Linked DNA regions of Homo sapiens: region 1 is linked to region 2. The links are contacts of gene promoters, found by promoter capture Hi-C in human tissues and cell types (Jung and others, 2019). All regions are on one chromosome and are shown on one strand. Each heading gives the region's core, a stretch centred on a gene start or on the middle of the fragment in contact. The rest is flanking DNA. Distances are from core to core; before and after follow the strand shown. Region 1 has its middle 210 kb from the start of KCNB2. Region 2 holds the start of KCNB2 (potassium voltage-gated channel subfamily B member 2).

Region 1 (2,700 bases), core at 3-2,502, 210 kb after region 2:
TGTTAAGCTGTTAGGTTTTGAGGGTAAGGGGGATCTTGTTATGAAGCAACAAATAATGAATACAGATGGAAATTCCCTCGATTCCTTTTCACTAAACTTACAACTGATCACTGTGAAAATGCAGTCTGCTACAGCCTGGCTTGCTCCTTCACCACCAAAGGTACCAATGAACTTCACACCAAATCCAATGGGCATTTGATATCTAATAAACGTTTGTAATTGCTGCCCATTCTTTCTTTGGCTTCCACCACACTCCAATTTCCTTGTTTTCTTCTTACTCACATCACTGTTAAGAAGACTCATGACCACCATCCTCCTGTGGGTTTTGGTCATCATGGGAAACATACTTTGTCCTTGCTTTTGGTAGGAAAGCAGCTTCCTCTGACTGTGTAGTAAGCTCTCCTTGCTCTGCCTTCAGAGTGGTTGGCAAGCCCTTCCCCATTAGACATTTTCAGGTAGGCATCAAATACCGGTCGCTACCTCCTCCAAATACTTACGGGCATATGCCAAGCTCTGTGAGTGGTGCTCTTGCAGCTTCCCTCTCTTGCAGTACACCCATCTCCACTCACCCATAGCAAAGGAAAGGAACACACACTCAGTGACAACCTTCAGCAAAGTAATCTACTGGTGCCTTTAACTTTCTTCTTTTTGGTGATATGGAGGAGAACGATCTATTAATGCTGGCAAAAACAGAATCACAGTCTCTTAGCATATCCTGCATGGCCAGACCGATTTCTCTGATTTTTCTTTTTCAGCCCCTGTGGCCTCTGCTAAAATTAAGCAACAGTGAAAAGCATCACTTAACATTCCTATTACAACTAATATTTAAAGGATGCATTCTTATTCTACAAGGATAAAGTAGATAATACAATTCATTCAAATTTTAGCTTTGGATAAGTTTATTAGCATTGTATCAGAGAACTCCAGCATGTAGTAGGTCTTGCAAATGTAACAGGAACATTGCATCAAATATACTTTTTAGTTCTGCACCCAAGAATCTGGAGCATACTATACCATGTAAAATATTTCTTTGTTTGCAACATACTAATGTCATGGCACTATGCACACAACCAGATAGTATGCCACCATCATCACTATTTAAACAAATTTGGAAGAAATTCACTACATATGAATATTGTGGCTGATTCCCTGACATTCATTCTACCCAGGTGACTGACCTGAGGCCATCATTGCAGATCCATCCCTCTTGCCAGTGAGGGGTTCAAGCATGGGCATATGACCAATGAGACATGAGAGGAAGTCTGCAGGGACCTTCAGGAAACATTTCCTTGGCTCAAAGAGAGACCTCAAGGAAAGGATGGTCTCTTCCCTTCTAGATACTGTGTCAGAATGAGAAAACTAGAACTGCTGCAGCTGTATTTCTACCAGCCTGAGAATGGAGCCTAAACTAAGAATGGATGAGAAGAGGTGAAATGATCCTGAATCCTTGATGACATCACCAAGTCAACCGAACTTGAAGGCTGCCTTGTCTCTGGACCTCTTGCTATGTGGAATAATGGATAGTTTAAGCCTGTTGGAATCCAGATTTTTATGATGTGCAGCAAAACCTATTCTCCTGATAACATACTAGGAGCACCAATAAAATTTAGATCTAAAAAGGGACTGATTATAGTTAAGCTTATGCAGACATACCTAGGAAGAAAATCAGAAGATTTAAGAAAAACTTAGAATAAACAGCAAGGCCTACTTTTACACTGGTTCTTGTGAAGGACTAATTTGGCACCAAAATCAAGATGTCACAGGAAGGGGAACATCACACACCGGGGCCTGTCGTGGGGTGGGGGGAGGGGGGAGGGATAGCATTAGGAGATATACCTAATGTAAATGACGAGTTAATGGGTGCAGCACACCAACATGGCACATGTATATATATGTAACAAACCTGCACGTTGTGCATATACCCTAGAACATAGAGTATAATTTAAAAAAAGCAGAATTAAAGTAAATAAATTGCACAGTCAAAAAAAAAATCAAGACAGAGAAGAAGCAGGCCAGAAACAAATAGTTGACAAATATAAACGGAGTCAAAAGTTGGAGGTGAAGTTTATGTTCGAGGTGAAGCTTACGTTCTTGCATCCCTAAAGCTATGACTTTGAGCCACTGCAAATTCCAAGTGAGGCAGAGATGTCAAAGCCTCTAGGCCAATACTGAGAAGTTTTTGAACCAAGAGAGGCCTGGAATGTTCTGCTGTCTTATATGAAGAACATAGGCGATTGTTCAACTTCTTGATTGGCAAGTAACTTACAAGATAAGAGAGGGTAACATGCAACATCCACCTGCTGGGTCCTGAAGGGAACAGGCACAGGCTGTAATCCCCTGGTCTACGGTAAGAGTGGGAAACCAGGAAGTCCTAAACATACACTGAGAACTACAGGACATTCCTTAAGATCATCATTAAGTCATTTTATATGACTGGTTTTATTTCAATAAATTCAATGAATGTTAAAGCAGATATGGTGTTTGTGCTAGAATTTATAATCTAAATACTAATTCATTTTTTATTGTTGCTATTGAAGTGTGGGTCTCACCTATGACAAAACATATCTACGGATACGATTAAACCACATTTTCAATTGTATGATCGTTGATGTGATGTTGGGTGTACATGGTCTTACATATTGTAGAAAGTTATGTCATTATTCTAATCCTTTCCTCTGCCAGTGCTAGAGGAAAAGTCTT
Region 2 (2,700 bases), core at 125-2,624:
TGCAGTCATAAATGTTGCATAAATGGCATGTTTGTGCATATTGCACACTGACAGTTTTTATGAATGAATACGCATAAATGCTCACAACTCGAGAAAATGGATGGCGGCATACTATTTTGAAGAGGATCATTAAGCATCGGGAGCAAATGATGAGGCAAATGGTCGATGTCTTTTGGTGCTATTCAGGGCAAACGTATTCCCAAGTCCCCTAGCAGAGTGTGTTGGAAACAGCCATGAAGCTCTTTCCTTAGAGACCCGTTCTCCCTCTCAGGAATCGTGCTACAGAACGGAGACCGCGCACCGCTTGAAGAATAAAATGCACGCATGTCTCTGTGTTCTGAGGATCGTTCATACATCAGAGACATCACACTCCCTAAATCCAGTCCCACAAGTGTGTGCATGTGAGTGTGGCATTTACCAACAAATGGACGGAAGGCAACAAGAGCTCGGCTCCTAGAAATAACATCCCCATCCCTTCCCAGTCAGGCTGCTGGGAAGCTTTTCAGGGGCTAATACTTGAGCGCCTTCCCCACCGGGAAGGAGCCTGACATTAAAAACCCTCTCAGGGCTAAGTCAGCTTTGTGTGTAAGTCCACTGGGCGCCATATGGCAGTTTCCAATTCCTTTAGCAACTCAAGTCTGGCTAGGCTGCCGCGATGATTCATTCTTAAAGGAAGACCCCCTTCGGGGAGCAGCAATGCCCCCGCCACTTACCTAGCTCCCACAGACCCCGCTCAGCAGGCGGCACGGGCTCGGGCACCACAAAGGGCTGTGGGATTCCCCGCTCCCTCCGGGGAGCCTCTCCCCGCGACGATCCCCTTCGCCAATGACCTGTCGCTGGAAATCCCCCTCCCCTCCACAGAGAGGAGGGTCTCCCCGGCTGGCTGGAGCTCCCGGCGTGCTTTCCCCCTGTCTTTACATCCCTGACTCTGGTTCACGGTCTCTAGTAGGAAGGCTCAGAGGAAAGGCGGCGGGAGGAAGCTAAGGCATCCTTTAAAAGAACAATAATCTTCATCGATCTTCAACCCCTTCCCCACACGGGGTCCCCATCCCCCTGCCGCCGCCACAGCCACCCAGACAAGAGAGGGCTGGAACAGAAGAGGAAAAATCGAGCGGGGCTGAGCTCGCCGCGCGGAAGGAGCCAGAAAGCGAGCCGCGCCAGCCCGGGAGTTGCCGCTCGCTGGGGCTGCCCGAGGCGCAGCGGCGGCGGCGGCCGCGGGGGCGGAGGGCGGAGGGCGGAGGGCGGTGGGTGCTTGGTGGGTGTGTGTCTGTGGCGGAGCAGGGTAGAGGCTGCGCGCGGGAGGCTAGGCGGGGCGCTCTGGGGCGCCGCTCCCCCGCCCCGCAGCTAGCCGGCCCGGCGCGCACACAGGGCTGCGGCCACCCCAGCCTCCCGCTCCGCCTCCTCCCGCGCTCCGCGCACCCGCGGGCTGGAGCGGCCGCCGCCTTCTCTTCCTCCTCCCCCTCCCCCTCTTCCTCCTCAGCGCTCCCGGCTGTCAAGGTGGGCGGCGGGGCGGGATGGCTGGGCTGCGCGAGCCGGCAGCGCACCGCCGGGGACGCCGGGGCTCTGCCTCGCGGCGCCGGAGCTGTGCGCTCGGCCGGGGACAGCGCTCTGGTGCCCAGGGCGCGGCTGGGGCGCGGGCAGGCACCGCCCACACCTCGGCGGGGTGCCTCCCTCAGCTTCCGCGCGCCAGCCACTCCTGCTGCCCCGGGCCTGGCTCCACACCCACCTGCTTCGCTCTGCAGCTCCCACCCGGCTGCACTGGACTAGAGGGACGCAGCCCCCGCGGCTGCCGCGCACCCGGGGCCGGGAAAGCCCCGGGAGGCCCCGCCGCGACGCGCTCCGGCGGCTTCGCGGGATTCCCTCGGCCCTTCTGCTTCCAACTGCAGGGCTGTCCTCCCGCCCGCCCACAGCAGGACCCTGACCCTGGGCTGACTGCTCGACCCCGGGGAACTGGGGCGAAGACAGATGGCTCCTGAGTGGTGGTGCCAGGATTATTTTCCTGGAGAAAGAGCTGCGGAGATAACTAGGAGCGCAGATAAGATCTGACTTTCCTCGCGGCACCTGCAGCCCCGCTCGCTCGGGGGCCGTCCCTAGCCCCAAGTGACCCGGCTTTCCTGGGTTTGAGGGTAAAGCCGGGTCCGTGGCAACCTTAACCCTTGCTTCTCACGGGGGCGCTCTTCATACCCTTCTTTCTTTCCTTTGCCTATCAACTTACCAGCTGGAAAACTATGCCAAGTTACCCCTTGGCGAGGCCGCAGGGTGAACACTTAGACCTGTACCCACTTCCAGGGCTCGGTAAAGACAATGAACTTGAATAATAACACTGAGCCTTACATATTTCTGACCCCAGTGCTCCTTCACAGGCACGAAATAGAGACAGCTGGCACGGTTACAGGGGCTTTCAGGAAAACAAAGTAGCTTAAAACACCTTTTAGAAACGAACGCAGGCCGTGACAAGTCTATTTAAAGCTGGGACTCCTGAGTTTCTATAGACCAAGAAGGATGGCTGTTGAGGAAGTTCCAAGTACACTGTTTTATTTATATTTATTTATTTATTTATTTATTTATTTTTTCCTTGTATCTTCTGTTTATTGAGTGTTTTTTTAAATTTTATTATTATTATACTTTTAAGTTTTAGGGTACATGTGGGTTTGTTACATATGTATACATGTGCCATGTTGGTGTGCTGCACCCATTAAC

The links. Contacts are between HindIII fragments. The study calls those that stand out against the background at their distance.
Region 1: a contact is called between a fragment that was not itself captured here and the fragment with the promoter of KCNB2 in region 2, in 2 of the 25 tissues and cell types used here (H1 embryonic stem cells and thymus).

Annotation. Positions count from the first base shown.
Region 1 is chr8:72,328,204-72,330,903 of GRCh38, reverse strand. No RefSeq gene overlaps it. Among named protein-coding and RNA genes, the nearest start is that of KCNB2, 210 kb to the left of the region's middle. The HindIII fragment of the contact is 5,726 bases long and covers 1-2,700 here.
Region 2 is chr8:72,535,899-72,538,598 of GRCh38, reverse strand. KCNB2 (potassium voltage-gated channel subfamily B member 2) reads right to left here and starts at 1,374. Exons shown (of 3, transcript NM_004770.3): 1 at 714-1,374. RefSeq lists silencers at 1,315-1,364, 1,525-1,584, 1,595-1,644, 1,655-1,784. The HindIII fragment of the contact is 6,044 bases long and covers 1-2,700 here.